2 separate regions of the Homo sapiens genome follow, and region 1 is linked to region 2. The links are contacts of gene promoters, found by promoter capture Hi-C in human tissues and cell types (Jung and others, 2019). All regions are on one chromosome and are shown on one strand. Each heading gives the region's core, a stretch centred on a gene start or on the middle of the fragment in contact. The rest is flanking DNA. Distances are from core to core; before and after follow the strand shown. Region 1 overlaps LOC112267974 (a long non-coding RNA gene). Region 2 holds the start of SMLR1 (small leucine rich protein 1).

Region 1 (4,953 bases), core at 393-2,892, 510 kb after region 2:
GTCTTTGTCCATAATTTCAGGGAAATACAAGTGAAAGAGTGAATTAAGATACTTGAATGATGTGACTTGTCAGGGATTTGCTGCCAAGAGCATCTCACAGGGAAGCCAGGAGTGTGGATGGGTAAAGAGGAAGTAGGGATCTGGGAACTGAAAACCCCAACATAGAGGCTTCAGGGAGCCTGGTTTTTGCAAGGTCTGGGAAAGAGGTATCCGTTGTCCTGTTCTCTCACTTGTCTCTATTTTATATCTGTCTAACATTCACCTATCAGAAGAATCACTTAAAAACATTATATTTATTATGAACAGCAGACATTATTTGCTGTTTTGACTTTTTATAAAATGCTCCATGGTAACTGCTTGTAAAACGGTTTTATTTTATATGTCAATGGCCTTTGCATGATAGTCCTTGTCTGACTTTCCATCTATTATTCCATGAACATTTTCTATTGTCAACTTTTAAATGCTAGGAAAAAAACAAACTAGTGGCTTGAGAGTCAAGCCTATTCCATTTTCTGTTAACCAGCAAATCACTCCCATACTGCCACCTAGTGGGCCATAGCAGCAGCTTCCACGATTGACAGAAATTGTTAATTCAAGTAAACTCAAATTTAGGATTCTTCAAAATTTCTGCTTTTGCATTAGTTGCTTGGAATACTCAAATCATCTTAACATAAAAATGATATCATGAATGGTTGTTAGGTTTCCACCTTGCTCATAAAACCATTGATCCCACATAAAACCATTGAACCATTTGCTTTGGTTTGGTTTGGTTTTTTGAGACAGTCTCACTCACTCTGTCGCCCAGGCTGGGGTGCAGTGGTGCAATCTCGGCTCACTGCAACTTCTGCCTCCCGAGTTCAAGTGATTCTCCTGCCTCAGCCTCCGAGTAGCTGGAATTACAGGCGTGTGTCACCATGCCCGGCTACTACAATGTACTTTGAATGAACACTGTCTATGTATGCAGACCTATCTGTAGTCACAGCTCCGTGGAGATGTCTCGTGTCATCTCACTTGTACCTTCTGCTCTTACTCGTCCTACAATCTATGAGAAAATGCCTGATTCCCAGCCTTCCACTCCAGCCTTGATGCCTCGACCTGTACTCTGGCTTGGGCAGAAAAAGAACTTCCTTGGGGTCCATCTCTCTCTCTCTCAGCCTGCTGCTGGTTCCTGAAGCTGTGGCTCAACCAAGAACCAGATTCCGCCTCTGTCCCTGTCCCAATTCTGGACTAGCCTCCATTCCACCCTTGCCTGGCCCCTTTGGATGCCTCGCTCCAGCCTTGCCTCTCTGATGGCTCAGTTAAACCCTCACTAATGAGTTCCCATAGTGATTTTCACCCTGTGGCTGGATCAGGCCCTCACAGCTCCTCTTGACCAGAGAGGTAGTTGTCTTCTCTGCTTATTCCTCCTTTCCAAATATTTTTAAGTGTATGATGAATTAGTAGTGTGTTTGCCTGATCCTAGGGAAAAAGGGACACAGTAGCTTAAGGAATTTCTCATTCTTCTGGTTTTCTGTGATGGCCTCTGTCCTTGAGTTGAGGTCTGAATATATGTAGAATATATCTAGCTAAAAGGAGCCTGCCTTATAGTCTAGACTTTTTTTTCAAATTTTATATAAAGGTGTCAAATATGTAATGGATATATACGTAGCTTGGCCAGGCAGTGTTTCGGGCCCTAGATATAAGATGCTGTTCTCATCTTATTTTATTGGGGGAATGAGAGACAGACAGCAAGTTAGCACATATATAACATATAATAATACTTTGAATGATGAAAAATGTCTTGAATGAGAAAAAACAAGGTAAGAGGACAATGAGTACTGGGAATTGTATGTGTCAGTGGGGATATTTTACATAGTTTTCTAAGGAACACCTCTGGATTAGTTGTCTATGGCTGCATAAAAAATTATCCAGAGGTTTAGCAGCTTAAAATAACAAACATTTATTACTTCGCCATTTCCATGGGTCAGCAATCCAGGTGCAGATGAACTGGGTGCCTGTGAATCAAGGAGGTCTCTCACAAGTCAGCCATCAGGGTTGGGGCTGCAATCATTTCCAAGCTTAACTGGGAGAGTATCTGCTTCCAAGCTCACTCACATGGCCAGTGACAAGCCCCAGGTGCTCACTGGCTCTCGATCACAGATATCAGTTTCTTGCCTTATAGGTCTGTCCGTAAGGCAATTGACAAGAGTTCTAAGAAAGATAGAATGAGAAAGACTGGTACAGAGCATGAAAGATGTAAGCCAGACTCTTTTTGTAACCTCATTGTGGAGGTGGCATCCTATCACTTCATTGCATTCTATTTGCTACAAGTGAGTCACTAGGTCCAGCCCACACTCACCTAGTAAATACAAGCAGGCAGAGATCATTGGGAGTTATGTTAGACAAAGTGATATTGGATGAGAGGCTAGAATGAAGTAAGGAGCAAACTCTCTGGGGAAGCATTACCCATGTCAAGGGATCAGCAAATATGTAAACCTTGAGACAGGCACATTCTTGATGTGTTCAAAGAACAGCAAGATTTGCTTGTCTGGAGCCCAGGAAGCAAAGGAGAGAAGCACAGAAGATGAAGTCAGATATACCTGGAAGGTAGACATGGACCTGCTGTGTATCACTATAGATCAGTGTGTAATTTTAAGAATTTTATATAAATGGAATTAGACATTTATATAAATAATAATCAGCATAATTGTTTTGAGATTTATCCATGTTCTTGAGTATATCAATAATCCATTCCTCTTTATGTCATTGATTGTAACACTGTTAATCTATTCACCTGTTGATGGGCATTTAGGTTGTTTTTAGTTTGGGGCCGTTACAAACAAAGTTGCTATAAACATTCATGTGCAAATCTTTTTATTTATCTTGGATAGTTACATGAGCACGCAATACCTGAGTCATACAGCAGCTATATGTATCTTTTTTAAAACTGCCAAGCTGTTTTCCAAAGTGGCAGGACCATTTTCCATTCCCACCATTCAATGTGTGAGAATTCCAGTTGCTCCACATTCTCCCCCAACATTTGATTTTTAATTTTAGCCATTCTAATACGTGCATAGTGACATTCTTTTGTGGCTTTAGTTTTCCTTTCCTCAATGATTAGTGCTATTTAACATTTTTTCATCTACCTACTTGCTATTCATTTATCTTCTTTGATGAAGCTTCTGTTCAGATTTCCCCCATTTCTTTTTTTGAAGAGGAAAGAGTTGTTTGAGTTTTGAGAATTCTCTGTATATTCTGGATCTGAGTCTTTTATTAGATATGCGTTTGATATTTATTTCCCATTTTTTCCATTTGTTCTTTATTGCCTTTTTCCTTTTACTGCCTTCTTTTGGATGGATTGAATAGTTTGTATTATTCCATTTTCATATTCTCCACAATTTTTTAATGTGTTGGGGGACGTGTGTGTGTGCATGTGTGTGTGTGTTTATTTTTTTCTCTTTGCAATTCATTTTGGAAACTTTTTATTGATCTGCTTCAAGTTTACTGATTCTTTTCTTAGCCATGTCAGGTCTACAATTATTTCTAATTTTCCCCTTCTGGGTATTTTTTGTTTATTTGTTTTGCTGCTGCTTTCATGCATTTTACTTCTACATGTTAAACTTACACATTAAAACCCCACAATATTTGGTTTTTAATTCTGCCTCAAGCCATTGATTATATTTTAAAGATATTTAATAAGAAAATTCTCTATATTTTTCTACATGCCATTTCTTAATTCTCTTCATTATTTTGTATAGGACCAAATTTCCATCTAGCATCATTTGCCTTATGCTTGAAAGACTTCTTTCAACATTTTTTGTAGGGCAGGGTCTGCTGGTGATTAATTCCTTTAACTAATATGTACCTTCATTTTTGCAAGATGTTTTCCCTGGATAAAAAATTACAGGCTGAAAGTTTTGTTTTTGTTTTTTCAGTATTTACTGATGTTGCTCCACTGTTGTCTAGTTTGCATTGTTTTCATCAAGAACTCTGCTCTCCTCCTTGTCTTTTTTCCTTTGTATCTAATGTGTCTTTCGCTTCGGGCTTTTAAATTTTTCTTTTTTTAACTGGTTTTAAGCAATTTCATTATAACGTGTCTTTGCATACTTTTCTTCATGTTTCCTATGCTTGGAGTTCTTTAAGATTCTTAGACCTGAGGTTTATAATTTTCATCACATTTGGAAATGTTTTTAGTAATTATTTCTTTCAAATGTTTTTCTGTCCCTCTCTCTCTTCTCCTGTGGGGGTTCCAAATTCTCCTGTATTAGTTTGCTTGAAGTTGCCTCACAACCCACTGATGCTTTATTGATTCGTTCAGGATTTTTTCCTTCTTGGATAGTTTCATTTGGGATAATTTCTATTACCATGTCTTCAAGTTCACTCATCATTTTTTCTGCAATACCTAATCTGTCATTGATCCAGTCTGTCTTTTTATCTCACACATTATAATTTTAACCTTAAGAAATTCGATTTTTGTATCTTCATATCTATAACTAACAGTTCAATCTTTTCTCTAGCTCCATAAATATATGGAATATCTATGTTCTGTTTTAATAACAGAACTAACAACCTTATCAATAAGCTTAATGTCTTCAATAACTGATTATCCATGTAATTTCTGGGCTAATTTCAACTAATTATTCTTTACCAGCTTGTGGGCCCTGTTTTCCTGTGTCTTTCCATGCCTATTAATATTTTATTAGATGGGCTGGGCACAGTGGCTCATGCCTGTAATCCCAGCACTTTGGGAGGACAAGGTGAGCAGATCACTTGAGGTCAGGTGTTCAAGACCAGCCTAGCCAACATAGTGAAACCCCATCACTACTAAAAATACAAAAATTAGCTGAGCATGGTGGCGTGTGCCTGTAATCCCAGCTACTCAGGAGGCTGAGGCACAAGAATCACTTGAACTCAGGAGGTAGAGGTTGCAGTGAGCCGAGATCTCACCACTGCACACCAGCCTGGGCGACAGAG
Region 2 (5,147 bases), core at 318-2,817:
ACACTGAAGGGAAGCCATGGTTATGATCTTGGGGATTTCTTATTTTCTCTTCCTTTTTGGAGGCTACTTCCGGGGTTCAGTGGTAATGAATGGCTGGGTGACAAGAGCATCCAACAGACTGGTCTTAGGGCAGTGGAGGATAAACTGACTTAACAAAGAAAAGGATTTATCACATGAATATTATAGAGTGAGGCAGAATATGGCTTGACCCCTCAGCAAAAGGGCTGTTCATAAAAATGAGACACACGAAAAATGAAAGGCTAGGGGCATATTTGAGTAAGTTGTGATGAAAAACTTGATTCCATGACATACTGTCTGTGTCTCCTAGGATTTCTTTATGTTCCAAATCTCATCTTAGGAAGAAATATCCCTCATTGCACTTCTGTTAGGTTATATATTATAGCATTAGTGATCTAAGATTACCACAAAAGCTTGGCAAGTCCAAGAAATGCCTTCATGTATGTTATTACATAAACAGATGTTCAAAGAGGAGGGTTTTTCAAATTTGTTTTAATATGACACTATCCAAATTAAGAAATATGACTGGTCTTTGTTGATTTTGCTAAAATAGTTATTAACCTTGATGATATTAATCTCATGTGTACTTGGCACAGTATTAACACATAGTCTATCTAGTTACAGCCCAGTTTCATTAATTTTAATTATAGCAGAATAAACAGTGTCAATCCAAGACCCGAATGTCCATTCCAAATCACCTTAAGCTTCCTGAGTTATTTGTTTGGTTTGGTTTTTTTCCACCTTAAGACTATAATCCCATGGAACGTTTACACCAAGGTCAAGTATTTATCTATCAGGGCTTTACATTTACAAAGACTGTGACAGCAGAATGTTTGGAACATTCCCTGACCAGAAGTTCAGTGGATGAGAAAGTTGTGTGTGTGCACACACGGGCGCATACACACGCACGGACATGCACACACATGGCCACATAAACACATCTGTCATGTAAAGAAGGCAGACCATGAACAATGTTTTCACATATGTGACTCTATTGCCTTGAGAGAGAGAGACAAGCAACCATATGTCAAAATTGCTGATTCACAGTATGTCTGTGAGGTGCTACACGTGAGGGCCCCCTACAGCAGACCTTCACATCTCAGCACAAGATCCACACAGTGGAAAGGATCAAACTTGGCCAAATTGATCAAGGAACTTGAGAGAACACTGATTGAGAAGTACCTACAAAATATATATATATATGTTTCTCCTGGCCAGAAAACACTGACAGTGCATCGGTATATTTCAAGATGTGCTGTGGGAAAGGATGCCCAAGTTCTTCCTTGTGTGGCCTCACACTTACCCTCAATCAGTTTGATCCTGAAGTAGGCGATGAGGAGGAGCAGCAGCAAAGTCACGGGGAGGAAGACCCCAAAGAACAGGAACCAGCCAGGGAGCTCCCTCATGAAAGCTGACAGCACAGAGCTCATTGCCAACCACACAGACCCCACGGGGACCATGGGAGTCACACTCAGGACCAGGGCAGCTTTCCTCTGAGTCTGTACTTGTTTTCTTCTGGGGCTCCGGCCTTTGCTCAGCATGTCTCAGTGGAATTTTTTGTGGACTTTGCTCTATTTAAATAGTCTGATGAATGCTGATAGGATTGCTGGCAGGTTACTCTGTAACTCAGCTACTAATTGTAGAGGAATTGAAAGGTCCATCTTCCAAGCTCTTTCAGAGATAAGTATGTATCTGGCAGCGGGGGAATGACCTTGGGAAGCTGAGTTTTTTTGTGATAAGTTTATTTGGAATGAAAATTACCCAACCAAGCAAAACTTGTTGTTATGTATATTCTTTCTATGTATTCTCAGACACAGAAGAGTTTTCCCTGTATTTCCTAAATTTTAGAGTTAAAAATTTCTTAATAGTTATGCCACTGTACCTAAGTACTTATGTCTAGAAAAAAGTGAATGTTCCTTTATACATAGTTGATACAATTAATACCAAGGAAAGAGAAACAAGGCTTTTCCCACAAGTAGAAATTCTTCCTCATATATCCTACTCAGAATACTTCTCTGAGAAGTGCATTGGTTTATTCATTTATTCAACAAACATTTAATTCTACTAGAACCCAACTTCTGAACTAGATGCTGGGTATACAAAGAAGAGTAAGTCATGGCCCCTGGCCTTTAAGAGTGGAGATAGACAAACAGAGAATGGCCACAGTGTCCGTGGCGGAGTGGCCCATGATGTAGCCCCATCTCCTTCTTCCTGAGGTACATTCGTCCTTGCTGGCTGCATGAGGTCATATACTCTCCTCTGCTCTACTGGGCCTTTCCTGTGGTCCACCATTCGCAGTTAGAAGGTGGCCTCTCATTGATAGTGGTATGGGTTGTGTGGTAACTCCAGAGTTTCTGGGAAAAGAAAGGGCAATCAATGGACCAATGTCAAAGTTGACATTGACTTGTTGACTATGTTGAGTTGTCATTGACTGCTTTAGTGAAAAATTTCCAAAAATATTGGTCTAAAAATGAAAACTGACTAAAAGAGTCATATTCAAAAGATGCCCTGGAGAATTTGGAAGAATGTGGGGAAGAGAAACTGGCAGCCACCTTCTTGGGCTCATTCCTTCTGTCACACTCTAACCCTGTCCCTGGCGCCCTTTAGTGGTGGCTGGAGGAGTCTATCAAGGGCAAGCCGCTGTCAGTGCCTCCCACATTCTTGCATCAGGGACTTTGCATGGTCATGCAGTCTTAGCCCCAGCTGTAAAGTTTGCACCCTAATTTACAAAATAATAAGACTGGAGAGGGTCTCAGGGTACATGCCTGCATTCCTGATCAATGAAGAGTTAGCAACTTCTCTTTCAGAAGAGAGACATCTTAATTTCAGGAGGAACCCTTCAGAATACCTGAGTTTAAGTCAGCATTCATTTACTCACGTATTTCTCTTCTCCCACTCTGCAAACCTGTGAATGGTGTTACTGCTATTATACTTGCATGCCTTCCATTGAGATGTTTCTCTGGTGCTCTTTCAGTTTGAACAGGATGCTAATTTGTAAAGTGTCAATCTTCAAAGAACCTCTGTGAGCAAGTGACATTACCAGGGAGATGTCAGGCAGCTGTTAGGCAGACTGTTTGTCATATTCTTTCTTCCTGTTTCATTTCCATTCAGCAAGCCTTCATTGAATGCCTAAACAAAGGTAAGTTAGGGGAACAGGAAAATAAATGACAATAATGTTAGCTTCCAGATCAACATATAAACAAAGTATAGTGGAAGCACTGAAGAGAGACTGATTAATTCCAGCCATGGAATTGGGCTGGGCACAGTGGCTCATGCCTGTAATCTCAGCACTTTGGGAGGCTGAGGTGGGTGGATTGCTTGAGCTCAGGAGTTTGAGACCAGCCTGGGAAACATGGTGAAATCCTGTCTCTACAAAAGATAAAACATTAGCCAAGTGCCGTGGCATACACCTGTAGTCCTAGCTACTCGGGAGGCTGAGGTGGGAGGATTGCTTGAGCCTGGGGAGGTCAAGGCTGCAGTGAGCCATGATCGTGCCACTGCACTCCACAGCCTGGGTGACAGAATGAGACCTGGCTAAGAAAAAAAGAAAGAGGGATATTTGAGCTGATCCTGGAAGGTGGGTAGCTGAAGAATGCCCTCCTCAAACACATGACAGGAGCGCTGGTTAGGGTTTAAGGAGGATAGGGCAGAATAATTGAGAGTAGCTGGGTGATGTGGGGTTCAGGCCAGAGAGTGTCTTACACGTTGAGGCTGGAAGAGTGGGGTGGTGTTAGAGCTATTAGACTCTGGAATGTCCTGTTATGTCCCATGCTATTTGAACAAAGGTGACCAATTAAAGGTCTTTGATCATGGAAGTACATGACCTGACCTGAGCTCAGTGGTCACTTAGGTAGGACTTTAAAGAAGGGACTGAAGAGAAGAGATCAGAATAGGCTGTCTCATCATGGTAGCAAGATATAATGAGTTTGGGATTAGAGATGGCAGAGGGAGAGAGAAGGGGACAAGAAAGCTGCAGAAATGAAACAAACAGCTGTGACACATGCAATTCAAAGATTACCACAAAGTAATCTTTGAACACTTACTATTTGTCAGGCACGATATACAACAGTTTATGTTTATAATCTTATTTAATCCTCACAGTAATCTTATGTGGAACAGACTCATAAAGATGAAGAAGCAAAGCAAAGAGAAGGTAAATGACTTGCCCAAGAAACAAATCTGATAAGTGACAAAGTTAGGACTCAAATCCAGTGCCCATGCTCTCATCCACTGTGCAATGGTTAACTGCAGAGATGGTGGTGCTGCAAACCGAGACCTCAACACATGCTGGGCAGCAGGTGTGGATGGGGGAAGATATGTCATTTTGCAGTCTTAAGTTGGAAGTGGTGTAGAGGTGTTTGATCGGAGCCTGGTAGGAATATGGAGAGGCCAAGTCTTGCCATGTAGATTTGGGATTTATTATTGTATAGATAGTAGCTGAGGTGGAAGGATGGAGAGATGCCTCAGAAAGGAGTATATATCAGAATAAAAGAGAAACCAACTACAGACCCTAAAGAATGCTCTTGTTTAAGACATAGGAGGAAGGATAAGAACCAAGAAAAAAACAGAGAAGACAGGAGGCTCTGAGAGGTGAGAAAGGAGCCTAGAGGGAATAATGTTAGGAAAATGGTGGCAAAAGAAAGTTTCAAGAAAGAGAGGAGATAAGTAGTACCATCTACAGGATCCAAGGTAATCCCGATCCACACAGAAAGTTTTGAGAACATAATTGTAAAGTTTTTCCTTTTTTTGTCTCTTTAAGTAGCTCATCTGGGGTACAATTGCATACAACGAACTGCACATATCTCAAGTGTACAATTTGATATGTTTTGACATATGGATATGCCCACAAATTCATCAACACAATCAAATGGTGAACATACCCACCACCCCCAAAGTTTTCTTGTGTCCTTTCCTATCCCTGTCCCCCACCCCTCCCACTCCCTCAATCCTCAGGCAATCACTCATTTATTATCTGTTACTGTACATTCATTTGCACTTTCTAGAATTTTATATGAATGGAGTCATGCAATATGTCTCTTTCTACCTAGCTTCCTTCACTCATCATAATTATTTGAAATTCATTCATATTGTCATATATGTCAATTTCATTGTTTTGTATTGCTGAATAC

Evidence for each region. Contacts are between HindIII fragments. The study calls those that stand out against the background at their distance.
Region 1: a fragment that was not itself captured here is called in contact with the fragment with the promoter of SMLR1 in region 2 in 1 of the 25 tissues and cell types used here (aorta).

The regions. Positions count from the first base shown.
Region 1 is chr6:130,318,461-130,323,413 of GRCh38, reverse strand. LOC112267974 (a long non-coding RNA gene) reads right to left here. Exons shown (of 3, transcript XR_002956398.2): 3 at 1-4,953. It also overlaps a transcript of SAMD3 not described here. Among named protein-coding and RNA genes, the nearest start is that of TMEM200A, 45 kb to the left of the region's middle. The HindIII fragment of the contact is 6,413 bases long and covers 1-4,848 here.
Region 2 is chr6:130,823,826-130,828,972 of GRCh38, reverse strand. SMLR1 (small leucine rich protein 1) reads right to left here and starts at 1,567. Exons shown (of 2, transcript NM_001195597.2): 1 at 1,322-1,567. The coding sequence starts at 1,559. RefSeq lists an enhancer at 2,530-2,824. The HindIII fragment of the contact is 14,306 bases long and covers 1-5,147 here.